Linked DNA regions of Homo sapiens: all the other regions are linked to region 1. Evidence: promoter capture Hi-C in 16 types of primary human blood cells and fetal thymus (Javierre and others, 2016). All regions are on one chromosome and are shown on one strand. The core of a region is centred on a gene start or on the middle of the fragment in contact, and the rest is flanking DNA. Distances in the headings are between cores, read along the strand shown. Region 1 holds the start of CYB5A (cytochrome b5 type A). Region 2 overlaps CNDP1 (carnosine dipeptidase 1). Region 3 holds the start of ZNF407 (zinc finger protein 407). Region 4 holds the start of LOC124904324 (a long non-coding RNA gene).

Region 1 (7,031 bases), core at 1,417-3,916:
GAGATGTGGCTGAAGTTTCTCTCACAGCAGAGGCAAGTAATTGCCACTCTTCTCTATTATTGTACACCTTGAAGGCAAGGTTAAGTCCTGTTGTGGGGTTTGAGGGCTGGAATCCAATTTTTGGAGCTTTTTCTAACGTCAGGAGTGGGTTGGGTAATAAAATGCATACTGAGAATAAGACGGCCTTCTGGCCTCTCTGGGTCTAGGGCGGTAAGGCGTTTAAGGGTTGTTGCCAAACGGGCCATGAACTGGGCTGGGGTTTTATATTTGATGAAAAAGAGCCTAACTGTTTTGGGAGAGGTCGGATAAAGAAAACAGGAGCAACAACCTTGACTATGCCTTTAGCTCCAGCCACCTCTTTAAGAGGAAATTGTTGGGCAGGTGGGGTAGGGCTAGTCAAGGAACAAAACCATAAGCCGGACTAGGTGTGAGGAGGGGAAGTGATAGAAGGATTATAGAGTGGGGGAACAGAGGCTGCGGAAGAATTGGGACCTGGCTCAGCCCGGCGAGCAGGGGAGAGGTCAGATGGCTCCACAGAAAAGGAGGATTCAAAGTACTCAGAGCTTGGGGTGGAGACCGAAGGAACACACAGGAGAGAAAGAAGAAAGATTTGGGATGAGTCGCATTGGGAGCAGAGACTAGGGCGGGACTGATGTGTAGAAGAATGCCTGGATGTCAGGAACCTCAGACCATTTGCCCATTTTACGACAAGAATTATCTAGATCTTGTAGGGTGGAGAAATTGAAAGTGCCATTTTCTGGCTATTTGGAACCACTGTCAAGTTTGTATTGGGGTCAGGTGGTATTGCAGAAGAAAATAAGGTGTTTAGGTTTTAGGTCAGGCGAGAGTTGAAGAGGTTTTAAGTTCTTGAGAACACAGGCTAAGGGAGAAGAAGGAGGAATGGAGGGTGGAAGGTTGCCCATAGTGAAGGAGGCAAGCCCAGAGAAAAGAGAGGGCAGAGACACAGGGGGGGTCGGTACTTGACACCAAGGTGAAGGATCAAGGCAGGTGTCCCTGTGGTGATCAGACACCTCTGAAATGTGGGTGAATAATCAGGCAGGCATCCCTGCAGTGATTAAACACCAAGGGAAGACTGTCTTCTCGAGTCCGTGACCAGTGCCGGAGTTTTGGGTTCACGGATAAAACACATCTCCTCTGTCTCTATCAGAAAAGGAAAGGAACTGAAATTAAGGGAAGGGATAGATTGAAGGGTGGTGCCAAAATTGAAAGGAGAAAGAGGTTGAGAGATAGTGAGAGAGGTTGGAGAAGAGAGTAAAAAGAAGCTGCTTACCCAATTTAAAATTGGTGAGATGTTCCTGGAGCTGGTTGGTCTGAGGACCCGAGGTTGTAGGTGGATCTTTCTCACAGAGCAAAGAGCAGGAGGACAGGTGACTGTCTTATCAGTTAAGGCAGGAACCGGCCATTTTCACTTCTTTTGTGATTCTTCAGTTGCTTCAGCATTTTCACTTCTTTTGTGATTCTTCAGTTGCTTCAGGCCATCTGGATGTATATGTGCAGGCTTGGGCTCAGAGGCCTGACATGCGTGTGTTTTGTGTTTTTCTGGATAGGCATGCATTCCTATGGAGGAGGTAAGCAGGGGGAAGGGAGCTCACATTCATCAGACACCTAGTATGTGTAGGAACCTTCTGCATCCCTGGAAGGATGGATGACCCCACATGTGAAACCTCTCGTGTGGTTCTTTTTGGAATTAACTACCATTGCTGAAAAGGGCCTACATAAAATATCAAATTTTAACATGCTGGAATTTTTCTTTATTTTTTTTCTCCTTCAAACATTTGTAGCTCTTTATATGTGGTATTTCCTCTGTGTCAGAAGGGAAAGAGGGTGCCCTTTGGGGAAGTTCTCTTCCAGACTCCTAGAAGAGAATCTGATTTACCTTAAATGCACAAACAAGGCCTTGCCATGTCACTGGCCAACCGCAGACAAACTACTTCAGTCACAGAAATAATTTGGACACTTTTGCTTTTTAAGGAAAAGATGATTTCCCTGGATTTTTTTCCTGTGAGGACGAGGCATTCCAAAACCCCAGCGGGGTCAGGCACAGTTCGCCAACTTTATGTTTTGGGGGGCAGCGCATTTGCTTCCCGAAGTGAGTTGCGAAACCGTTTTCTAGCGCGCACGGGGCTTTCATCTCTTCCGTGCATGCGAACGGCTTTCCGAGATGCCCCCTTTATGGGCTTGGCCATCGCTACTTTTGTTACAAATTAACGTCTGGGACTCGGACTGCTGCCAATAGGAAACTCCCGCGATTCGCTGCCTAGTTCGCCGCCCTCACAAGACTGGACTCTGCACAGGCCATCCATGCCCGCTGGTGCACCTCGCTCTCTCGCACGCTTAACCCGCGGGGACGCCCCCGACCTCCCACCTCAGCCCTCGCCACAGTTAGTCCCGCCCTTCCGCGCAGACTCCGTGGAGTCCTGTCACGCTCTCCGCGCGCTGCGGCAGCCGGGAGATTGTGAAGGGCACCTCCGGCAGCCAATTAACACCCGCATACTGGGCGGGACCACGCTTGGGCAGGCGGAGGGGGTCGACCGAAGGCGGGGACTTTTGAGTGACAAGGATGATGGCCAACCGTCGGAGGCCCTTCTACTGCGCCCCGCCCCTGAGCCGGCCGCCCAGCCCCCAGTGGGGTTCCCGGCGCGGGGAATGTCCCGGGTGGAGCTGGCTGAGTCGCGCGCTCTGCTCCACCCGACGGGGCTGTGTGTGCTGGGCCTGGCTCGCGGCGAACCGAGATGGCAGAGCAGTCGGACGAGGCCGTGAAGTACTACACCCTAGAGGAGATTCAGAAGCACAACCACAGCAAGAGCACCTGGCTGATCCTGCACCACAAGGTGTACGATTTGACCAAATTTCTGGAAGAGGTGAGTTGGGGATGAGCGGCTTGGGGCGCAGGGAGCGTGGGCCGGGTTTGGGGGTTCACTGGCATGACCTGTCTTTCGCGGCCCGGAGTCCGCATACCTACGCCTAGGCGCGCCCCCCGAGTTCGCTCACCTGCGCGTGTACGCCTGGGCGCGCTTCCGAGTCCGCACACCTGCGCGTGCAAGCCTGGGCGCCCCCCACCGCCCCAAGTCCGCACACCTGCGCGCTCACACCTGGGAGCGCTCCCCGAGTCCGCACACCTGCTAGTGTACACCTGGGCGCTCTCCTCGAGTCCGCACACCTGCGCGTGCACACCTGGGGAGCGCTCCCTGAGTCCGCACACCTGCGCGTGTACACCTGGGAGCGCTCCCCGAATCCGTACACCTGCGCGTGCACACCTGGGAGCGCCCTGCGCGGCGGCATCCTCGCTAGGTGGTGCTGGAGCAGCCTTCCGGGGATAGCGCGCAGCCATGCGGGGGATTTAAATGATCCCTTTCTCCCTTGAGTTTGAATAGAAGGGTGTCCTTCCAGGACCGGCGGCATTCCCGCAGTGGCCGGCTGGAGACCACCCACCCCGAGAGCTGCGGATCCCGCCGGAGGGGACCCCAAGTGCGGAGGTCGGGTGTGGTCCGGGCCTGCGCTTCCCGCGGCAGCCACTGGCCGACCTTGCGGTCCACACCCACTCGCGTTCGCGTTCACCTGGAAGAGGCTCGGTGTTAATTAACCTTTTCCAGTCACGCCTTGGCAGCCAGGTGCCGTGCTTGACTCCTGAGACCGCGGTGTGTGGCTGGAGCAAGAACACAGAGGCCAGGCAGAGCAGCGGACGTTCTGCGTGGGACTCGCCCCTAACAGCTTTGGAAGGTGTAATAGGAAACGTTGGTTAACTTGAAGACATTCCTTTGATAAGATTCTTTGCATTCGGTTATAATTTTTGCCGCACACGCTAAGGGGCGCTTTTGGTGATTGTCTTAGATCCTCTGGAAGTGTTTTACTACTTTTGGGGGAGTCTCAATCATAAATCTTAACGCATGCTCACGCCCCCTCCCAATAATGAGAAGGTTTAGTGATGGGAATTTTTTACATAGTCGGGGAGCAGGGGACAAAAATAGATGCCTGGTCTGAGCTGGATCACAGTTTATATCAGAGGACTTTGTTTTTGCAGAAAATGTTAAAATCAAAAGGCCTGTTTTAAAAAATGAGGCTGGGCCAAGCACGGTGGCTCACACATGTAATCCCAGCACTTTGGGAGGCTGAGGCGGGTGGATCACTTGAGTCTAGGAGTTCGAGACCAGCTTGACCAACATGGCGAAACCCCATCTCTAACCAAAATACCAAAATTAGCCAGGCCTGGCGGGGCACGCCTGTAGTCCCAGCTACTCGGGAGGCTGAGACAGGAGAATCCCTTAAACCTGGGAGGCAGAGGTTGCAGTGAGCCGAAATCGCACCACTTTGCTCCAGCCTGGGGGACAGAGTGAGACTCTGTCTCTAAATAAATAAATAAAATTAAATAATAAGGCTGGAGTTGATGTTTATTGGTAAGGTATTTCACTCTGGAGCAGTGCCCGAAGATAAAGTCATGTTACCATTTAGTAAGGAGGGGTTTATGTTGGGAAATCAGAGCTGACCTGTCCTCTCCCTCCTGCCCGGCTGCAGATCTTGTCATATAACATCAATTCTCATTAACTCTAAATGTGGAATTTTAAGATACAGTGTGTGCTTTGTCTATTTGTGCTTATAGAAGAAGTAGCATAAGAGAATATTAGGATATTTTATATTATGAAGCATTTTCTTCTTTTCTTGTCTTCTCCTAAAGCGAGTTTTTTCAACCCTGGCACTGTTGACATTTTGGGCCAGCCGATCTTTGTTGTGGCGTCTGTCCTGGGCATTGTAGGATATTGAGCCACCTCCCTGAGTTCTACCCACTAGATGACCGGTACCACCACCTCCCCTATTTTTTTTTTTTTTTTTTTTTGAGACAGAGTTTTGCTCTTGTGGCCCAGGCTGGAGTGCAATGGTGTGATCTCGACTCACTGCAACCTCTGCCTCCTGGGTTCAACCAATTCTCCTGCCTCAGCCTCCCAAGTAGCTGGGATTACAGGCGCACACCATCACGCCCAGCTAATTTTTGTATTTTTAATAGAGACAGGGTTTCAACATGTTGGCCAAGTTGGTCTCGAACTGCTGATCTCAGGTGATCCACCCACCTTAGCCTCCCAAAGTGCTGGGATTACAGGCGTGAGCCACTGCTCCCAGCCCTACCTCCCCTATTTATAGCAACCCAAAATGTCTCCAGATATTGCCAGAGGTCCCCTAGGGCACATAATCTCTCCAACTTGAGAATTACTAAGGTTACTGTGCATGACTTTAGGGGTAGATTTTCAGAGACGATAATAGGGAAGTGAAGATTATTGTTAAAATGTACTCAAAACTATTTACTTTCACATTTCATTCCTGTGAGTCAGGAAAGGAGGGATTGTGCAAAAAATTTTCCGAGAAAAACTGAGAGATGAGAGCAAGCTCTTGAGTGGGTAAATTAGCTGAAAACAAATTTCTTTATTTTTTCTTACTCAAAGTTTTTGTGGAGAATGCATCTCAAATAAAATGAACAAGAGGGTGGCTGACCCCTGGAACGGCTAGGAGGATGGCGTGAGTGAGGAGGCTGGGGTCTGGGAGAAACACAAGGAGTTAGTTTGGTTTTGGTCCTGTTGACTTTAAGAGGTTGGAGGGATCTTCAGGCATTGCGAGAACTGCATGCGTTTCTGCCTCCACTGTCTGCCAACATGTGGTTCTGGGAACAAGCAAGGCCACTTAGCCTTTCACTGGATTGTGTCTGACCTCTGGGCACCTCCCGATTCGACCTCTTATGGACGTGTTTTTCCATTTGCCGTCTTTATTATTTGCTTTGACTTTCTGTGACCATCTCTTGCTTATTGCATGTCCTGGTCATTGGCTTCCCAGCCCCCGGCAAAGCCTCTGGGAGCCTCTCTCTGGGTTCTATCTGAGACTCTAGCCAGGATTCCTTGCAGGTGACTTCCTGTGCTCCTGGGGTTATATCTCCAATAAGCTCACTCGCTCAGAGCTCTTCAGCACACTGCCCTGCCAGGTAGTTTGTTATGAGGCTAGTCTGTTTGTCTGAAACGTACTTTTAAAACAGAAATGAGTGCAGAATGTCTCTGTCTCTCTTCCCCGCTTGCCCGATCCTCTTTCCTGTCTTCTATTGTTGAAAGGCTCCAGAATTTCATGAAGCCTTTGTGTGTTAACTAACAAATATTTTATCTCACCTAATTTACCTAAATAGGAAAGATTTATCTTCTCCTTCTAACTCTCAAATGAACTTTCAGTCATTATGGGCTAGACCTTTGTTTACTGTGAGATCCCCCATCCGTATGGACAGGATTTCTCATGGCTGAGTATTTCCCCTTCTTTCAGAATGTCCTAGATTTATGTGCATGTCCGTGTTCATGTTGAGAAGGTGTGTGGTGAGATGGTGGAGGGATCCTGCTCTGCTGGCAGGTACAAGCCAAGAACACAGGTTGAAGCTCACAGGTGCAGCATGTGCTCCGACCTCCTGAAATAATGGCCACTAAAGCTGTTTTTGTTGTTTAGGCGGAGGGGTAGAAACCTAAGAGGGAAGACTGGCTTATTATTAATGGCAGTCGACATAGCAGCAGGTGCTTAGTTACTGTCTGATACTTAAAAGATTTTGAGCTTTATTGCCTACATATTTTGAACTAGATTTTTTTTTCAATCCTGAGTTCTAGTTTTTGAGTTTATATTTGTGAAATTGAGTCTTTGCTTGATCATAGAACTTTAAGGGACAGTTATTTGAAATGAAAACTTAGGCATTTAGGACCAGGGGGAGAAATGTTTGCATTTCCCTTTCTGTGATTTGGGCAGCAGCATCTATTCAGTTTTTAAAAGAGCTGTGGAGGGGAGAGAGAAAGGTATCCTGTAATTAACAACACTTCCATTAGCTGTTGCTTTTGGTTCAAGTCAGTGGGTGTTTGATTCGTGAAATAGATACTGTCCTGGAAAATTTTATAAAGCAGAATGTCTTTTTGTGAAGTTGTCTCCTCTCCCTTTACATCATAAAAATGGAAACTTGCTTCTGTAGAACATTTTCTAGTGTTCCTGGGATTCTGATAGTCTTG
Region 2 (6,916 bases), core at 4,079-6,578, 280 kb before region 1:
GTACCATGGCCTGGACTACTGAGGCCAAGGGAGTAAATGCTTTCTGGCAATTTGTCTGCCCAAAAGGGGCACATTATTAAACATTTTTTTTTTGCTTTTTCTATTATTTTTCTTTCTTTCTTTCTTTCTTTTTTTTTTTTTTTTTTTTTGATACAGGGTCTTGTTCTTTTGCCCAGGCTGCAGTACAGTGGCACGATTATCTCAGCTCACTGCAACCTCTGCCTTCCGGGCTCAAGCGACCCTCCTGCCTCAGCCCCTTAAATAGCTGGGACTACAGGCCTACACCATCATGCCTGGCTAACTTTTGTATTTTTTGTACAGACAGGGTTTCACCATGTTGCCCAGGCTGGTCTCAAAGTCCTGAGCTCAACTGATCCACCCACCTTGGCCTCCCAAAGTGCTGGGATTGCAGGCGTGAGTGACCATGCCTGGCCATGTTGTGAAATTTGCATAAAGGAGCTATACATGCCAAGTGGAGCACAGCGAGGTGTTGCAGGGTCTAAAGCATAGGTAATGTGTGAACCTCTTTTTTAAAAGAACACCAAATTATGAATATAAAATGATGAGTGTCCCTTCCAGGACTGTGGAAGGAGCTCCTGTAAGTGAGGCCCCTGGAGTTTAAACTTCCTTAGCTTCCCAGGGAACCCACTATGGGCAGCTCTGATGCCTAGAAGAGCTGTAGGTGAATTGAGCCTGAGCAAACAGGCTCCCCGAGAAAAACATACAACTTCCTCTTGCACACACCAGCAATCCATGGGAAATCAAGGACAGCACCAGGACAATCGGGGAACTCGTCGGCGTCGCTGTGCCACTCGGGGCCACAGCAACCTTGAAAAATGAAGCCAAGTGGTGCTGACATATTTGACACCATTTCTGGAGTCAGGCCAGGGCAGGCCATTACTCACTGATGGACATGCTGCATTCCAGCCACCGTGACAAGCGTTCTGCACACATCACCTTTTTGCATCCTAAAAGCAATACTAGGTGAACAGACGATTGTGCCCCTTTACAAATGAGAAACCAAAGACTAGAGAACTCAAGTAACTTACCAAGGTCGTACAGGTGGTCTGTGGCAGAGCAAGGACATACCTGGTCACCCACACCCAGAACCCACATGCTACAAGGTGCAGGCTGGTCTGCGGAAGGGCCAGTCTGTCGTGAAAAACAAGATGCTCTTGAGAAAGTGGGTGAAGGGCCTCACCTGGTGTGTCGCTTAGTTCCTTTCCCTTTTGATCATCCCTTTGTTGATTTATCTTCAGTCAAAAAGTCATGCCAGGTCTACTGAAGTTGAACTTGTGGTTCAGCTGCTTGGGAATACCACACCTCCACCCGGCCCGGCATTCTAGGAGCACCAGTAAGGGAGTCAGGGTGGCCTGTCAGTCTTTTGTATCCTTTGAGTCTCTGCCCTCTTGTCCTTAAGTATGGCTATGTGTCACAATGTCCAATAAAACAAAATGGATGAACTGAAGAAGAGTTTCAGTCCATGAAAAGAAATAATGCAGACTTACTTATAAGTGGAGGGAACAGTTTGCCAAGGGGAGGAAAATCTAAGCATCTACACCCTTGTTCAGAGCTGGTTCAGAAAGCAAGGAGAGGCACATAAAATCAAGTAGAGCTGTCTTTTAGTTGATCCCTGATGCTTAAAAAGTGAAACAAAATAAGGCATTACCGAGAAGAGCAACCAGATCAGCCATTGGTTCATGAAGGATGCCACCAAAGGTTCCTGAGTGAAAATCCTGGTCTCTGCATTTCACCTGCAGAGTAGATAAAAGGTAAGAGATATACTTCCTGCCTTGGTTCCTTTAGTGTAAGCATTTCACATGGTGAAATACATATCTGCGTGTGTCCCTCAGAACTCAGGTAGGCAACATCCAGACCTGACTTCACTTTCTGTGTTTCTCAGTCATGGGGACTGGATTTCCTACCTGCTGTCGATTGCTTCATTCCCACCATCTCTTGAATCCCCTGAAACTGACTCATTCCTCAGCTCTTCCACCAACTCTATTCTAGCCAAGATCACCAGGCTCTCCTTGGCCAAATGATTGATGTTTACACAGCTGTCTTCCTTTTGGTTTCATCCCATATTGTTGATCACTCCTCTTTCTGGAAAAATTCTCTTCCCTTGATTTCTGAGAAGCTTTCTTCTCTTTCTTCTTTTCTTACCTGCAGGACAATTCTATTGATACCTCCTGTAATAACATCTCTTCTTCCTCCACCTCTAAAGCTTAATACTTGGCTCATCCTTCCTCTACCTGAGCTTCAAGAGCTCACAGGATAGTGTCTATGTATATGGCACCCTTGACATAAGTGACTCCATCTTAGAAAAAGACTCCATCTTACTTTTCCTAAGGGACTTTGCCAACAGGGACTAGATGTTCTGCCTGATCAATAAAGACTGCTTCCAGCTGGATAAGGACATAGCCAAACACATTCTTCCACTATCAGTTCTTATCAGAGGACTTGGCAGTCATAAAACGACCAGGATGTCAGCAGCTCAAAACTTAACAGACACTGTCCTGCTGTCACTTGTGCTAAGCGCCCAGCATCTGCCACCAAAGGCTCTGCCCAGATCAAAGTCTCTTCCTTACAAGACCACTGGACCACCCGGGCCAAGCCAGGATTTCTTTTTGTCTACGTCACTCTCCCTGGACTGGTTCATTAACCTGTTTTCCTATCACTTTTCTTTTCTTTTTTTTTAATTATTTATTATTATTATTATTAATTATTATTATTATTATTTTGAGACAGAGTCTTGCTCTGTCACCCAGGCAGGAGTGCAGTGACATGATCTCAGCTCACTGCAATCTCCGCCTCCCAGCTTCAAGCAATTCTTCTGCCTCAGCCTCCCAAGTAGCTGGGACTACAGGTGCACGCCACCATGCCCAGCTTTTTTTTTTTTTTTTTTTGTATTTTCTTCATAAAGACAGGGTTTCACCATGTTGGGCAGGCTGGTCTTGAACTCCTGACTTCAGGTGATCCACCCGCCTCAGCCTCGCAAAGTGCTAGGATTACAGGCATGAGCCACTGTGCCCAGCTCCTTCTCTCTTGATGGTAAATGTTACTTTGTTTGTTGTGGAATGTTCAGTCTATAACATTCACATATTGGCTAGGTATACCACAATGTATGCTTTACAATACTGACTGCCTTGTGGAGTAGCTTGAGCCTGTGTGCCTGCGCTCTGACTTCTGAATGAATGGGAGGCACTAAGGAGAATTGCCTCCTTGGGAACTCCATGGAGCCCATGGCTTTTATTATTGAGATAGCATCAGTAAAAGCCTGACATTGTGGAATGACACAAACATGTGTGGACCTGGTTATCTCTGACCATGCGGTGCTCACGCTAATTTAAGGGCAGAGATGCTATTAATACAACCATGCCCTTCAATGTTCATCCCTGGAGGTCTGACCTTCTACTTAAACACCAGACCTAAAACTCTGGAATGCTTACGGTGCCTTCCACTTGAGCATGCTTCCAGTTTCCAAAACTCAGGAGATCTAGACCCAAACTCAATCTCTTCTGCAATTACTTCCTACCAGCATGATTTCTCCTATATACGCCATATCCAATCAATTACCAATTTCTACAGGTTGGGCTTTTTTGAAGTTGATTCTTCAGTTCATTCCCTCCCATCCTTCCTGCCCAGCTGGTCTTTCTCTGTTCCTCTTCATCTTCAATGTGGCACCAGAGCAATCTTCGGTATGGTCACTTTAGCATTAAGACTTTCCGTTCACTAGGCAATAATGCTAGCTAAATTACTCTGGAGTGTGGACGGTCTCACTTCGAAAGCTTGAGCTGGCTGTCTCACATTCTGATGACAGCTCCCCTTGTCCTCTCTTGTAACGTTGCTGTACCACCTGTTCTCGGTCTTCATTAAGACGTCAGTCCCTTGACCCTTCCAAGATGTCCCACATTGCCCTCCTGCCTTTGTTTTTTCCCCTGTTCAACCTGAATACCACCGTTGATCACCTCAGCCCCTCTGTGCTCAACACCTTGATGAGCTCTTCCCTACTTTCTCCACCACAACCCTCTGGGGTAACCTCAACCCCTGGGCCAGCCTTCTCTGTCCCTGGCCACTGAGCATGCTGCAGAAAGCCAGCAATTTGCATGGACAGATGACTCCAGACCTTACCACTGCCTGGCCCTTCTTCATCCTCCCATCCCTTCTCTTCCCCCTGTCCCAAAGTGACCACTTCAAGCCATCACTTCTCTGCAGATACACTCACTTCCTACTAAACAGAAAAAAATGGACGCTAAGAGGGAAAAAGCTCTAGGACTTGGAGCTCTCTACCTACCCAAAGCCCTCACAGAAGAGGTTATTTTCTTCCCCTGGGTCTGGAGCTCGCCCCCTCCCACCTCCTCAGTGCCTTCGTTCTCAAAAATTCTCCCCCTCCCTCCCAGGTCTCCAACTGCTCCCTCTGTCTATTGCCTCCCAAGGGCTTCCTCTAGCCATCATCCCAGCTGTCTCCCACTTTTCACAGCCATGTTTCTTGAAAGCGGGTTCTAGAGGACAGTCCCTGCTTCCTATTTTCTCTGTCACTCCCACATCTCTTTAGTATCTGTGTCTCACTAGAAGTAAACTTCCTGAGGGCAGAGACTATTTTATTCAGTCCTATACCCCTGGGACTTAGCATCCTCCTATCTGACAAATAGAAGGCACTCACTGTTTTTCACACGCATAGCCATGTGTGTTTCCGTGTATGTGCTGACATCTGAATCTCAAAACTGCCTAGGGATTGGATACAGCATGGATTATCAGCCTACACGTTGTTATATGAGAAAACAGATTGAAATGATGAAATAATTAGCTATTTACCCGGGAGGGACTTTCTATGTCTTATGCACTATCACAGATTGCCTGTATTACTAGAAAAAGAGAAAAGGGGAAGGAAACTGATTATGCGTCAAACCTCAACTAAAGGCTGCATGTAATGACACAGTCATCCTGGGAGGGGGCGTTATTGTACCATCTTTCAAGGTGGGAAACCAAGGCTCAAGGTGAAACCACCTGCACAAGGCTGGGCATGGTAGAAGCTAGGATTCAGATGCTGGCCTCGGGCGACACCAATGTTCCTTCTCTTTCCCTGTGACCACGGCACTGGGGTCTCCTGCCACTGTGGCCAGCAGGCCCACGCTGGGAGCAGGACACAGCACAGTTGCCCCTGCATTGATCGCGCAGTCTGCTTACCTCCCTGTGGCTGCCATACCTGCCTGCAAATCCCATGGCCAGAGTTTCCAAGCTTTGCTTTGTAAGTCACAAACCCCTGTGAATCCCCTCTCCAGAACAAGGTACATAGCCACATCCACTCCAAGTGTTGGGGGTTCATGACCTCCCCAAACCCCAAGACCTCTGCACCCACCCCACCTCCCCTGAGGCCGTGTGTCCCAGGTAAGGCCTCTGCCCTCAGGAAAGCTTTCTTTCTTCCTCTCCAAGATCCCAGAATGGATTGGTGCTCCCATTCACAACCCCCACAGGCCTCCATCCATGCACTGCTCTCTGTGGATACCTCCACCATGAAGTAGCTGTTCCCCCGGGTTCCGTAAGTGATTGCTGGCTTCCTTTGGCTGATCCACAGGTTATCTGAAATTACAATGTAGTCCACACCAGAGAAGAATCGGTCCTTTTCTTTTTCCACAAGTTCCTCCAGGGCAACAGAGCCAGCCTCTTCCATCCCCTCAATGATGAATTTGATATTCACAGGAAGATCCTAAGTAACAACAGAAGAAAAAAATTGCACAAGTTGCCTGATGTGGTTTGGCTGTGTCCCCACCAAATCTCAACTTGAATTGTATCTCCCAGAATTCCCACGTGTTGTGGAGGGACCCAGGGGGAGGTAATTGAATCATGGGGGCCAGTCTTTCCTGTGCTATTCTCGTGATAGTGAGTAAGTCTCATGAGATCTGATGGGTTTATCAGGGGTTTGCTTCTTCCGCATTTTCTCTTGCTGCCACCACCTAAGAAGTGCCTTTTGCCTCCTGTCGTGATTCTGAGGCCTCCCCAGCCATGTGGAACTGTAAGTCCTATTAAACCTCTTTTTCTTCCCAGTCTTGGGTATGTCTTTATCAACAGCATGAAAATGGACTAATACAGTAAATTGGTACCAGTAGAGTGGGTTGTTGCTGAAAAGATACCCAAAAATTTGGAAGCAACTTTGGAACTGGGTAACAGGCAGAGACTGGAACAGTCTGAAGGGCTCAGAAGAAGACACAAAAATGTGGAAAGTTTGGAACTTCCTAGAGACTTATTGAATGGCTTTGCCCAAAATGCTGATAGCAATATGGACAATAAAATCCAGGCTGAGGTGGCCTCAGGTAGAGATGTGGAACTTTTTTGGAACTGGAGAAAAGGTGACTCTTGTTTTGTTTTAGCAAAGAGACTCATGGCATTTTGCCCCTGCCCCAGAGATTTGTGGAACTTTGAACTTGAGAGAGATGATTTAGGGTATCTGGTAAAAGAAATGTCAAAGCAACAAAGCATTCAAGAGGTGACTTGGGTACTGTTAAAGGGATTCAGTTTTTAAAGGGAAACAGACCTTAAGAGTTCAGAAAATTTGCAGCCTGACTATGTGATAGAAAAGAAAAACCCATTTTCTGGGGAGAAATTCAAGCCAGCTGCAGAAATTTGCATAAGTAGTAAGGAGCCTAATGTTAATCCCCAAGACCACTGGGAAAATGTCTCCAGGTCATGTCAGAGACCTTCACGGCAGCCCCACCCATCACAGGCCTGGAGGCCCAGGAGGAGAAAATGGTTTCATGGGCCAGGCCCAGGGTCCCTGTATTGTGTACAGCCTAGAGACTTGGTGCCCTGTGTGCCAGCTTCCCCAGCTGTAGCTAAAAGGGGCCAATGTACAGCTCGGGCTGTGGCTTCAGAGGGTGGAAGCCCCAAGCCCTGGCAGCTTCCATGTGGTGTTGAGCCT
Region 3 (7,082 bases), core at 213-2,712, 310 kb before region 1:
ATCACCCAAGCCAGAAATCCTTAATGTCCACTAATAAGATAATGTTTAAATAAGCTAATATATCCATAATAGAAAATATTACATAGTTGAGGTAACACTGGAAGCTCATCAAGACATCCTGTTCAGTCTGAAATTACTTAACAGTGGTTACCTATGGAAAAGTGCCTGAAATCAGGGAGAACTTATTCTCTCCAGTGCTTGAATGTTAAAACAAAAACCAACAACTACCAAAAAAACAAAAATGCTTAAGAATAAAGAAAGATGTGGAATGAATCTATTGTTTCACAGGCGTCAATGGTGTCTCACCAACAGACTGAGCTTCTAGGAGACCTAAGCCTAAGCTACTTCCTCGGTACAGAATTTATGAAAGGTGCCTTTCAGGTACTGATTACGTGGCCTGCCTTACATGGTTGGGCTTTACTGTCAGAACTGCTTCATAGAGAGAAGATACTGTTGTCATTTGCTTTGCTCACATTAAAAGAATGGGCACTTTCAAACTCAAGAAACTGTTAATAGTGATTGTCTCTGGAGAGCAGCCCTAGAGTCTGAGGCATCACTGTACTATTTGCAATTTTTCGTTGTGTGCATGCATTGGTTTTTCAATTGTAAACAACTAAATAAATAACTGAAGGGCAGGGGGGACTTCCTTTCCTCTGAGAAGTCTCCCTAAACCTTCTTCCAAATTAAAGCAAGATTCCTTATCATCAACTCTCATAGCATCTGTGCAGCACAGTGAGTGCTACAGGACTCAAAACTTTCTTTAAATAAATGCTAAGACATGACCAAATGCATGAACCTATTACTGGCTCCCCAATGCCCTTACAATAAACTCTTCAAGTATTACCTCAGCCTTCAAGACCCTTCGCAGTTTGGCCCCTGCTTCCAAATGCTACACTGCCCCATGATCTGCCGGGCTGCCTGGGAGCCTCAGCTCTCTCCTGAATGCCCTGTCCCCACACACCTGGGCATGCTCAGGGGTCAGTGTAGGAGTCCCCCTGAGGCATTTTCCCTGCCCCCAACTCCCCTCACACACACACAGTGCAGGATGTGTTTCCCAGCAGGACCAGGGCAATGTGTTTATCCTACCCTTCTGGATCTCTACTAACTCACAGACTACACTGGACATAAGAGGAGCTAAAAAAAATGTTGAATGAATCAATGCTAAAATACTGTAGAAGGTAATGTAACTTAGTGACTAAAAATAGGGGTTCGGAAGTCAGACCATCTTGGTTCAAATCCTGGCTCTACCATTTAATAGCTGTGTCGCCTTGCACAAGCTATTTATCCTAAATTTGAGTGTCCCATAAATCAATAAAATGTAGTATATACCTCAAAAGATTTGGGGGAATTAAATGAGATTATGTACAGAGGCACCTGGCACAGTGTTTATATAAAGAGCTCAAAAACATTATTATTGTTACCACCACTGAATTCTATGTTTATTTGCCTTTTACTGTCCCTAAGTACTTAATACTTTGAAAACGTCCAGTTTTCTCAGCTATACTCGAGAAGCAAACTGTTAAACCAGGATTATTATATCTGGAAACTACTGTATGAATAAAAGCAATAATCCTCTAAAGGAAAAATGACACTTAAAGAAGACAATGTTGGAGACCATCATCTCTCTCTACCTTCTCCCGCAAAAGGTTCTCCCTTCAGTGCTCAATTCTAGAAGTTCTAGATTTTACTTTATTTAGGGAGGCTGTAATTCCTTTACACTCCTACACCGCCATCAACTTCTTGCAAGGCTATTTCTGGGTTTTATTCCAGGTAGTTGGAATTGCAAGATAATCAAGTAAGCAGGGAGTTAGTACAATTATGATCTACCCATATAATTACCATAAGGAGATGTTCTAGTCACAAGACAACACTGATAAGAACAAAAAGCCTTTCCACTACAAAAAATATATACAGATGTGGATCCCTCACTAGTGATGCAAGCAAGATACATATGTAGGTGTAGCTATGTATACAGATATGTATGCATATATTGTATAGGGACATGTTTTGTACTTCCTTTCTGCTCCAAATGACTCATACTCCATTAAATTCCACAATATTTACTGATTCCCCTCGAAACAGTTTGGATGTGCATCCCCTCCAAATCTCAGGCTGAAATGTAGTCCCCAATGTTGGAGGTAGGGCCTGGTGGGCAGTGATTGAATTATGGCGGGGGTGTCCCTCCTGAATGGCTTGGTGCTGTCCTGAGATGGTGAGTGAGTTCCCATGTGACCTGGCTATTTAAAAGTGCATAGCACCTCCCCACTCTCTCGCTCCTGCTCTTGCCATGGGATATGCAAGCTCCCCGTTTGCCTTCTGCCATGATGGAGAGCTTCCTGAGGCTTCACCAGAAGCCCAGCAGATGCCAGTGCCACACTTCCTGTAGAGCCTGCAGAACCGCGAGCCAGTGAAACCTCTTTTCTTTGTATATTACCCAGCCTTGGCTATCTCTCCATTTTAGGCAATGCAAGAATGGCCTAACACCCCCTTCTATGAGTAAGACATCATGCCAAGAGACTTGGGATGCATACACATGAAGGCCGGTCTTGCCATAATCTTGTGAAGGACACACACACACACACACACACACACACACACACAGACATACACACACACACACACACAACTAACTGAAGGAACCAAGGCTGCAGTGAGATGCTGGTGGTCCTCTGGGATTGCAGACTCATCCATACAACTGCCCACTCAACGTGTTCACAGAAATGAGCCCACACTGAAGTATCTTACTGGGGCAACTGCTCACCTTCCATCACCACACAGGGAACACCAGGCTCCACCCAGTCACCCGAAGCAGACACATCAGTGTCCACCTTGACTTGTCCATCTCACCTACTCCATCCCCGAATCCACTCCACTAACTGAGCATGTACAATCCACTCACTTCCCCTACCTCTGGGCCACTATCCTAGTTCAGACTTCTGTGATGTCTAACCTACTATAAATGCAACAGCCTCTAAAAGATCCCTGTCCCCTAGCCTTACACCATGCCAACTGGTCTCCGTAGTTGCAATCAAAGTGCTTAAAACAAGCAAAAGGGTGTACATGTCACTATGCTGCCTACATTTCTTCAAGAGGGCCTCTCCAGCCTTATTTTCCACACCTCCTCTTATACTCCGTGATCCAGCCATCCTAAACACCTTTTAATTCTTGAAATGTTCCACATTACCTTTTGACGCTTGGAAGTCTTCTATCCAAAACTGGATTCCCTAACCGCTCTTTATCTCTTTGCCCAGTGAGTTCCTGTTCATTCTCTGGTCGCCATTCCCTCTTGGTATTCCTCCCTAACCTCTTTAAGCTTGCCAGGTTCAGTGGTTATGCTGGACATTTTTGCTTTTAGGGCTACCCACAGCCCAAGCTTCCTTCTATTTAGTAGGACTCCTTTGAGGTGTGGGTCTTTGCGAGGGATAAAGACCATCTCTCTCCATCTCTCTGCTCCCTGACAACTACAGTGGCTTGGCAAAAAAGGTCACAAAGATGCAGGAGCAATAAGAGATTTTTCAGTGGTAGAAGAGAGTCAACAGTCCAGCAACAGAGGTGGCAGTTTCTCCAGTGGCAATGTCACCAGCAACAAAATTCTAGGCAGGCTATTTACGTGATATTGCCTTGGATGTGGCCCCAGCCAGCCAGCCTCTTTTGGTTGCTGCCTATTTTCTGAATCCAGTTCCCCAGCCTTCCCATCAATTCTGAAAGCCATCTATAGCCTTCCAATAAATTCCTTTTCTGCTTAAGTCAGCCAAGTCCATTGCCATGGTTGACAACCAAGAATCATGAATGGCACTGTGACACTCTGTGGGCAGGCCATCAGACTGCACTGCCAATGCGCATTTGCTTGTCTATATTCCCCACTATCTTGTTCATCATTTTACTCTAGTGCAATGGCTGGCACAAAGCAAGCATGCGGTAAATGTTTCCTGAATGCATTACTTAATTCCACTAGTCATCAGAGTTGGAAAGCAAGGAAAACGCTCAGTGGAGGACCACAGTGCATTCCTAAAAAACCAATCTCAACTACAGTCGAAAGAGTCACAACTATCAATTAGAAACATACAGCTTAATTTATTCGCCTATTCATAGATTTAGAAACTAGGCTTCTTCTCACTATCTGGGATACAAACCACCTTCTTAAAGGAGATGAGAAAGAGAAGAATCAAACTAGGAGAGTATATTTTATTAAGATTAGCGAGTTCTACTCTAATAAAACAAACCTAATCGGAATGAATGTTGGGGAAAATGTCCCTTCAACCAGGTGAATACCCACTAGTCCTTGAGACCTATCTCAAATCACATATCCTGCAAGAAGCTTTCACCACTCCCCACCATCAATCAGCCGTAACTTCCACTGTGCTCCCACATCTCTATTTTAGTAAGCAGAAAAAGGTATTATATATATTTATTTATGTGTCTATTCAACCAGATCTCAAAATCCTCTAGGGAAGTATATTACTATTTCCAACACCTAGAAGGGTGTTTGGCATAAAGCAAGAACCAGTGTTTTTGAAGTGGAGCCACTTTGCTCTGCTTAAAAGGTACCAATGGAACTGTCCTATTGTTTGCAACTTTTCTGTAAATCTTAATTTATTCCGAAATAAAGTTTAAAAAAAAATGCACCAGTAGCAACTGTGTTGTGAGCAATTATCACACCTGCCTTACATGTCACGCAAGAAGAAAGCTTTACCTTGTACCAGTAGCAGTAATTTTGTATATAGCAAAGTGAGTCTCAGTTTGTAAAAAGGGAATAATTCCTACTACACAAGATTGCTGTACTAAATGAAGCACAGTGAGTATGCCAAATGACATATAAGCTCTTCTTAATAAGGTTCTGATGAGTATATGTTAGGGCCCCTGTCTACAGTGTTCTAAATGGACCAGCACTTCACCACAAAACAGATACATACTACGACTAGGATGTCACCAGGCATAGACTGCAAAGCTGTAACTCAAATCACTATTAAGACTGTAATTACTTATAAAAGTATTCTACATGTGTGTCCACGGATGTGGGATGTCCTATTCCAAAACTCCCCAATGAAATAAATGGCTACTCAAAACCCAGCGCAACCGACAGAGGTCAGCGGCCACTGCACCCCGCCTCCACCAGCTTAAACTCCAGAAGGAGGCCAAGCACCCAGGGCGTGCTAGCTGGCTGGAAAGAGGTGAGCATCTACTGAGAAACCCACTGCTGCCCGCAGCGGTGTCAGGCAGCCGCGGGTCTCCCCGCAGTGGCGCAAAGCGAGCTGAAGTCGGGAATGGCTAGGACCCTTCGCTGCCACCGCGGTGCTTTCGGCCACCGCACTTGTGTGCCCTCCGCCCGCCCACACCAGCGTCGCTTAACGGAAGAAGGCGCGAGTAGCAGCGGCGCAGCCAGGGCACCTGGGGGTGACACGAGAGTGGGCGGGCGGTCCAGGGAGCCCCTGCTGGAAACCAGACGCTAAAGCTTGCAGCTGTGCAGCTAGGGGAGCATCTGTTTTCCACTTGAGAGCAACCCGGGCACGCGAGAACGGCCCGATTTCGGTGCAGGGGTGCGTCCCGAAGGAACGGGGGACTGTTTCTGCGCGGACAGGCGAACCCGGCAGGGGAAACCGAGGCCACGCTAGGTCCGCAGCCCCGAGGTGTCCACAAGAGCTCCGCTCGCGCAAGGGCGCGGAGCGAGGCTGCCCGCGGGACCGGCCTGCGGAGCGAGCGGGTGAGAGGGCAGGGCGGCAGCTGGGGCCTGGGGGAGGAGGGCGGCGAGGCAGCGTGAGCGAACGAGCGAGGGTGTGTGTCCGGGCGTGAGTCTGGGCGGGTGTCGGGAAGGAAGGCGACAGGGAGGGGCGGAGGCGGGGGGAGGGGGGAGGAGAAAGAGCGAAGGGCCCAGACGGGGCTCTGGGCGCCCAGCCGCCCGGCTTCGAGCCCTCAAGCCACCGCCCCCAGGCCCCGCGCTGACGCTGGACGGTCCCCGCCTCCAAACCCCCCGCCCCGGCCAGAGAATAACTTACCTGTTTGGCGACGGAATCGCTCCTGCTCGCCCCTCTGACTGACTCCTCCGGCTCACCGTCTTCCCTTTGGGAGGAAGAGGCGGGACATCCTGTTTCTCCGTCGAAGGACTTCCGGTGGCTTCCAAGGCGACTCCGTAGTGGATGCAGCGCCGGACGCCACAGCCGAAAAACAGAATCTTGGAACTGGTTTAGTACAATCCAGGTCGAGTTCCTTGTTTTTTATCCGAGTGGCCGGCAGGCCCATGTGCTGTCTTGTTTTTAACACATCAGCTCTTGCCGGAAGCCGCTAAGAGATAAAATAGGAAGTCCCACCCTTCCCTTAGAGAAGGAAAACGGAGAGCCGAAGGAGTCAATCTAAATTCGATGAGCGCGTCGGGCTCCAAGGCAGGCGCTGTCAGCCCGGGAGGGCTGTCTGGGATTTCTAGAGGGTCCCAGAACGGGTTCTTCCCAGGCCGATCCCGCCTGCTTCCTGCCCCGTCTCTCCACCCGCCTCCCGCCCTCTGTAAGGGACCCCGAGGGCGGCGCCGGAAACACGGAGAAGGCCCAGAACGGCGCGGGACCCGAGAGGCCTACGTTGGCAAACGCAGCCCGCTGCCCCTTTGCTCGCTTCCCCCGGGCCTGGAGTGGCTCCTGTCGCTTCTGGCGCTCCGATTTCGAGAAATGACTTTCAGCTGTGCAAGGCGAGAATGCTACTTTAGATGATGAGAAAAAATCTCTCGAATGGCTCCCAAAATGAGGTCCTTGTTTAAGAGGCCACAGGAAGCCGCTAGCCGAACTCTGATACCAAAGAGGAGGCCAAGAAGCGGACTGTGGCTTGGTGACCTGTTTGGTATTGCCAAATTTTCAGCTTTTATTAAAGCTGAAACACCTTGGCTGTTTAAAACGTTCGACAAGGACTTTTTTATGAACGTTAACGGCACAGCATACGGGTTTTTTGGAAAAAAAAAAAGGCAGGACTTCAGCCCGTCCGCCCCCTTGTGCAGGTCCATTCATGAACCTCGAGTTAGAGGCCTTTCTTCTGAAACTCAGAATCTAGTAGGGAAGACCTGTGTAGACGAATAAAAATAAATACATCACAGCTTGTTAAGT
Region 4 (6,666 bases), core at 1,933-4,432, 290 kb before region 1:
ATGATATTCCTAACCCCTAAACTTATCACAATAGTTACGCTTTAATGCGCTACGTCTACTAACAAAGCCAGATACATTGCCCTCCTCCAATACAACAAAGTCCCCCTGATGGGCATGCCACAATGTACGCCCAACTTTACTGGGTGATCATTTTTGTCCAAGTGCATATATTTCATCATTAAAATGTTAAAAAACAAATATTTAAATTTCTCCCTTTTTTGCCTCCATATGGCTGGTTAATATATCTGAATAACAACTGAGTAGCTTTCTTTTATCCCTTTGAGTACAAGGAGCTTGGAAGATACTCCTTTCTGACTCCCACGTCAGGGTAGGGTCTGGATCACCACAGGGCTTAGAATTGGGTGGAAAAACAGGAGGGAAGAGCTGGGGAGACCAGTCGTGACCCTGGGTGACAGAAAAACATGGACTCTGAACTCTGGCAATCCAGGGTTGGAATATCCTAGATTCTACAACTTCCATAACTATTCATTCTCCTCCCCTTCTCTCCTGGCAGCAACGTAATAATTGAGACACTGCTGGTCTCAGATTCAGCAGGAATGAAGATCAGCGAATACATATTGTTGGGTAACTTCTTAAATCTGATGGTACATTAGCCAGAAATGCTTACAGTGTATTTTATAATAAACTTATGTTAATGGACTAACATGAAGACTCTAAATCTCTCTTACTGTTAGTCCTTATCTACAGTGCCAAATGCATCAGGTAGGTTCAACAAAATCGAGAAACACCACGAAACTCTGCATAATTAGATGAGCGCAAACTACACTTAATAGCACAAAATATCAAACACCTGCTGCTGTTCTTTAACGATGACTTGATATTCTATAGAATTGGAGATGTGATGGCTTGAAGCCTCCTGCTTCCAAAGAAAACACTAACTGGAATCCTTCACAAATGCCCACAACTAGGTTGAGCTCTCAGTTGGGTCCACTTCTATGACTAGAGTCAAGGTGAACTGAATCACTGCCTGCCTGCTCCAGTCCTTTTAAAGGTGGTACAGCACGTTTTTAAACTGACACTGACATCTCAAGAACCAACAGAGTGATGGAAAAAAGTTGAACGCAAATGTGTTCTGCTTTTTTTTTTTTTTTTTTTTTTTTTGGAGACGGAGTCTCACTCTGTCGCCCAGGCTGGAGTGCAGTGGCATGATCCCAGTTCACTGCAACTTCCGCCTCCTGGGTTCAAGCGATTCTCCTGCCTCAGCCTCCCGAGTAGCTGGGACTACAGGCATGCACCACCATGCCCAGTTAATTTTGTATATTCAGTAGAGACAGGGTTTCACCATGTTAGCCAGGCTGATCTCGAACTCCCGACCTCAGGTGATCCGCCCACCTCGGCCTCCGAAAGTGCTGGGATTATGGGCATGAGCCACCGCGCCTGGCCCTCTGCTTTGTTTTTATTTGGAGTCATAATAGAAAAAAATTTTAATAAGCCCCTAAATGATTCTCCATTAATGTGATTTAAATAATAAATTCATAAAGATTGATTTTGTTTATATACACTCAACTGTAGAAAAATGACTGTCTTTTTTTGTTGTTTACACCGTCAAATCCAATCAAGCCAAACATGATGGTTAACTAAAATGATTAATGAATGCAGCATTAGCTGATGGCTTTAAATTTAGCGTGTGTTACTGATGTCAGGGTTGATTAGTTCTCTATCTAAAACTGATGCTATTAAAAGCTTTGAGCAATTTAGATGTTGTCATTGAGTAAAACTTCAATGGGGTGAGAGAAATTCTATCAGGATAAATTCTGCTCTGGTGCAACCTGTGCACAGATGTTGGATAGAGAGAGAGTGGGCCTTTTCTGATGGGACAGGAAGAAGGAACGGGAGGCAGAGAAGCTGACAAGGTGGCATCGATCTCAGGAAAGGTAAAGAAGCTTGGAATAAAAAAAAAAATACTCATCTTTGCACAAGGACTCCCAAATGGCATATGGGTATGAATATTGATCATTTCAGCTTCGGAACTTTTCAAGAAGTGGGAAAAAATAAATGAAGGGGAGGCAAGAGGTTAATATAGTACCATGCCTTAGTAACTCCTCTGAAAATGAATCCATGGGGAAATCATTGTAGTCAGTGGTGGAGACCAACATTTTTATTAATAAGATAAAAGGAAAGAGTGGTAAAGCAAAGGCGATCATTGGATGGAATGATTATGTGTCACGAGCACTTGAGGACCTAGAAAGCAAACTGGAGTGATTATGCCAATCAAATTGCAAGGTTGGAGATATGCTAAAAGGTTTGAAGGAATCCAATCCTGGGGCTATTGCACAGGACTTGGGGAAATCAAGTTGCTGCAAGCAGCTATGACTTGAGGAAGGTGTGCAGTGGGGGACCTTAAACCATTTCCAACATCTGTGCCTTTGAAATATTTTATTACTGATCCAGATATCCCAAGACATTTTAAATGGAAGGGAAAATGTACTATACTAGACCCAAATTCTCTGGATATTTACATTCCATCCCTGTCTAGGGATGTGGGGGAGGTGAATCTGTCAGTGGATCAGATCAGACTAGAAGGTTCTTGTGATTAATGGAGCTGGGCCATCTCTAAGAAAAAGGCAGCAAATAATTTGGTTCCCTCTATGTAGTTCCACCTAAGAAGAGGAAAAACAAAGAGAAATTTTGTTACAATTTCCATTCAAATGAAGGAGGAAAAATATTCTGTCATTTAGACAGGAAGATTTGATGTTATAAATTCCATTTAAATTATTTAACATACTTCTGAGATCCCAGTATGAAAAGCACTTAGTAAGTTCCATGTGAAAATTGCATTATTATTATTAAGAAGATGAGAATCAGTCCTAGACTCAAATCCAAAAGTGAATTTTCCTTGATTTCTTATCACTGATATGGATATCAGGGTCAAACAATTTCTTGTTTCTCAGTAGTCTGGGATGCTTAGGAGATCTTGTAGTATCTGCCAGTAGCGCATAAAGCAAACATTCCTAATAGCCTTTTTTGTTATGCACTAAATATTTGTGTTTCCTCAAAGTCCTGTGTTGAACCCCTAACCCCCCAGTGTGTCTGTATTTGGAGACAGGGCCTGGAGGAGATAATAAAGGTTAAATGAGGTTAAAATGGGGGTCCTAATCCAATGGGTCTGGTGCTCTTATAAAAAGAGAGACACCAGAACCACCTAACCCCACCATCGCAGGGACGGCCAGGAAGACAGCCCATACCCACCAGGAACCAAATGGCCTGGCACCTGATCTAGGGCATCCAGGCTCCAGAACTGTGAGGAATGAATGTCTGTTCTTTAAGCTCCCAGTCTGGACGATTTTCCATTCTCACATAAATTGAACAGGAGCTCACCCACGTGTAGACCCGGGTGTGTGCAGTAAAGGAAGAAGAGAGAGGCACATTGCACAGGCATCAGCTGACCTGTTGATTTTCTCATTCTGCGAATGTTCTCCATCATCAACAGCTCCCAGCGGAATTAGCACCACGCTCTTGTGGACGATCTCCTGGAACATTTTGGCAATTGGAATGGTGGATCCATCCCGGATCATATCTGGTTCTGTTCCAAACACTGAGACAGGAAAAGAAGGCATTTGAATAGGGTAAGGACAAGAACACCCCCAGGAAGCTCCTCAAGGTCAGTGCCTCCTTTACCTTCCTCTCTCTTTTTCCTTGTTAATCTTTCTTTTTTTACCATTAGATTTGGTGCTTTGGGGTAAGGAAGCCCCTTGATATCATGCAATTATATTCTAAGATAGACACTAGAGTCAAGAAGAAAACTATGGATGTCTTCTTCACAATTACCTACTTTAAAAAAGATTTTAGAGCCAGGTGCAGTGGCTCATGCCTGTAATCCCAGCACTTTGGGAGGCTGAGGTGTGCGGATCACTTGAGGTCAGGAGTTTGAGACCAGCCTGGCCAACATGGTGAAACCCCGTCTCTACTAAAAATACAAAAATTAGCTGGGCATGGTGGTATATGCCTGTAATCCCAGCTACTCAGGAGGCTGAGGCAGGAGAATCGCTTGAACGTGGGTGATGGAGGTTGCGGTGAGCCGAGATCTTGCAACTGCACTCAGGCCCGGGTGACAGAGCGAGACTCTGTCTCTAAATAAATAAATAAATACAATTGTAAATAAAAATTTTATTTTGAACTAATTTTAGAAAAGTGTAGAATTTAGAAAAGTTGCAAAAATAGTAGAGAGAGAGCTCCCATCTATCTCTTACTCTGCTTTCCCTGATATGAACGTCTTATGTAACTATTGCAAAATGATCAAAACAAGGAAACTGACAACGGTGCAATGTTGTTAACTACACTCCAGACTTTCAATTTCACCGGTCTTTCCCTTTTTCCCTTCCAGGATCTGATCCAGAATCCACACTGCATTTTTATTATTGCTTCTTAGTTTCTTGTATGCTGCAGACGTTTCTCAGTATTTCCTTGTCTTTCATGACCTTGACCATCTTGAAGCTTATCAGTCGGTAGTTTTGTAAAATATCCCTCACTCTGGGTTTGTCTGATGTTATCTTGTGATTGCAAGAGGTCATGCATTTTTGGCACGACACAAGACAATGTCCCTATATTGTTTCTTCATGAATTAAATATTATGGAAGTGGGACTTCTTTGGGTTTTTTGGTGACAGATATGCCAATAGCTGTACTATCGCTCAAATGTCACAGTGTTTCTAGCAATTTTCAAAGTATTGCACAAAATAGTTTTAACTGCTATCGTAGGTTTTAGAAAGAGATGAGTTCAAACCTTCTAGCTTACCGGACATGCTGCCAGTGATGGAGTGGGATGAAAAATGAAACAAAGAAACCAGAGAGAACATGCCACCTCTTCTTTATTCACAAAGAAAGATGTGGACGTGAATCGAAGTGATGTGCCTCGTTCGCAGAACCAGTTTAGCACACAAATAGACCGAAAGGTGTCTTATGCATTCCTGAAAGGCTATTTCAGACCTATTTATTGTTGTCAACCTGGGTATTTCAAACACACACCTCTCTTCAGCTGCCATTACATTTCTTCAATCCTAAAGTTTACTGGCGAAATACCTGCTAAGGTTGGGGGCAGCAGGAATGGTGATGGAAAGAAGCATGGCTCCCTGTCTTGGACTTGATCTGTAGTTTTCCGTGTCTGTGTCCCTTGTACTGATAACCCTGAGAGAGAGTTAGTGCTTCAAAGAGATCTGGGCTTCCCTTTCTGGCTTTGCCACCATTAGCCAATGTGGCCTCAGGCCTCATCTGTAATAGGATGCCATAGGTCTACCTAAATGCATGCCACTGCTTTTCCACCTAGCTTTGGGAGAGACCTAGAACCCCCTGCTTTGGGAAGAGCCCCCATTCTGCTATTGTTGGCAGGGTCCCCCTCCTGGTGCAGAAGCCAAAAAGACTGGGTGTCCCTGCTCCCTGACGCCACAGCCAGCACCCAAGTACACGCCCTCTGCTCAGCCCAGCACATGGCTCTACCCAGGACCTTGAAGTGCATGGAATTAAAACAGGCACCACCAAAGAAGTTCCAAATAGAGCTGTGCTGCCTTCTGGGGAAGCAATGTGGCATTGTGAAGAGACCACTGGCTTGAGGGTCAGAAACACCAGAACTGGGTTTCTCATGTGTTTTGCAATTGTGTACAGTGAGCTCATCTCCAGGAAGCTCCTGTGGAATCTCCTTGGCCTGCCTGGGGGCTGTGTCCTCCTGGGCAATGCTGTGCTTGCATCAGCAGGCAGTCCAGCCATGGCACTAGTGAGAACCAGACCACACACTAGGTAAAATTAAACACCCAAACCCACAGGAGCAAGGGTCCATGGTTAAAAATTCTCAGGGGAGACCTTGTGTCCGTCCAACGTCCAAGCAAAGGCAGTCAAGCTTACACACACACACACACACACACACACACACACACACACACACACAGGATAGGTGTGGCTCTCCGGGGATGCCCTGCCTGTATATAATGGGTCTCATTTTCAACTTCCTGCCTCACTCTGGCCCAAGGCCATTAAAGCCCCAGTCTCTTTGTGACCAGGAAGAGCAGATCCCTGCCGGCCAGCCCAGGGTCTGCTTATTTACTCCCCTAGAATTTAGCTTCTCCTTCATTTTCAACCCTGAAGGATTTCCTCTGATGTCATACAAGCTAAGCTGTATTTTTTGTTTTTCATTTTTTGAGACAGGGTCTCACTCTGTCCCCCAGGCTGGAGGGCAGTGGCATGATCATAGCTTGCTGCAGCCTCAACCTCCTGGGCTCAAGCCATGCTTCTGCCTCAGCCTCCTGAGTAGCTGGCACTACAGGCATGTGCCACCACGCCCAGCTAATTTTTATATTTTTTATAGAGATGGGGGTCTCACCATATTGCCCAGGCTGGTCTTGAACTCCTGAGCTCACGCGATCCTCCTGCCTCTGCCTCCCAAACTGCTGGGATTATAAGCTTGAGCCATCACACCTGGGCTAATCTGTGTTTTGAAAGGATGTTTTTACATGTTGGCCAACATTTCTATGAGTTTGTATTCAGGGGGAGGGGGTTGAAGATTTTCTAGTCCATCATTTTCTTCAAAATTCAGGTCTCCAGACTTAAATTTGAACACAGGCTTTGCCCCTTGTGAGCTGGGCACCCTTTGGCAAAATACTTCATGTCTGTAAGCCTGCATTTATTCCTCTGTTAGATGGGGAAGGCCATTGGGAGG

What was found. The method cuts DNA at HindIII sites, captures the fragments that hold promoters and counts their contacts. A CHiCAGO score of 5 or more calls a contact.
Region 2: a fragment that was not itself captured here is called in contact with the fragment with the promoter of CYB5A in region 1 in 1 of 17 cell types (naive CD8 T cells); the score reaches 7.9 in naive CD8 T cells.
Region 3: a contact is called between a fragment that was not itself captured here and the fragment with the promoter of CYB5A in region 1, in 1 of 17 cell types (naive CD8 T cells). The highest score is 5.0, in naive CD8 T cells.
Region 4: a fragment that was not itself captured here is called in contact with the fragment with the promoter of CYB5A in region 1 in 2 of 17 cell types (monocytes and activated CD4 T cells); the score reaches 6.3 in monocytes.

Annotation. Positions count from the first base shown.
Region 1 is chr18:74,287,598-74,294,628 of GRCh38, reverse strand. CYB5A (cytochrome b5 type A) reads left to right here and starts at 2,666. Exons shown (of 5, transcript NM_148923.4): 1 at 2,666-2,882. The coding sequence starts at 2,754. RefSeq lists enhancers at 1,578-1,747, 2,107-2,166, 2,456-2,625, 2,705-2,874, 3,480-4,087. The HindIII fragment of the contact is 14,442 bases long and covers 1-7,031 here.
Region 2 is chr18:74,566,024-74,572,939 of GRCh38, reverse strand. CNDP1 (carnosine dipeptidase 1) reads right to left here. Exons shown (of 12, transcript NM_032649.6): 6 at 5,507-5,707; 7 at 1,670-1,754. Among named protein-coding and RNA genes, the nearest start is that of ZNF407-AS1, 28 kb to the left of the region's middle. The HindIII fragment of the contact is 173 bases long and covers 5,242-5,414 here.
Region 3 is chr18:74,596,849-74,603,930 of GRCh38, reverse strand. ZNF407 (zinc finger protein 407) reads right to left here and starts at 6,061. Exons shown (of 9, transcript NM_017757.3): 1 at 5,994-6,061. It overlaps ZNF407-AS1 (ZNF407 antisense RNA 1), which reads left to right and starts at 6,096. Exons shown (of 2, transcript NR_024484.1): 1 at 6,096-7,082. RefSeq lists enhancers at 5,066-5,285, 6,076-6,285 and a silencer at 5,676-5,975. The HindIII fragment of the contact is 3,707 bases long and covers 1-3,315 here.
Region 4 is chr18:74,580,451-74,587,116 of GRCh38, reverse strand. CNDP1 (carnosine dipeptidase 1) reads right to left here. Exons shown (of 12, transcript NM_032649.6): 11 at 3,409-3,556; 12 at 1-2,621. The coding sequence ends at 2,555. It overlaps LOC124904324 (a long non-coding RNA gene), which reads left to right and starts at 3,440. Exons shown (of 2, transcript XR_007066415.1): 1 at 3,440-3,622; 2 at 4,346-6,666. The HindIII fragment of the contact is 2,551 bases long and covers 1,907-4,457 here.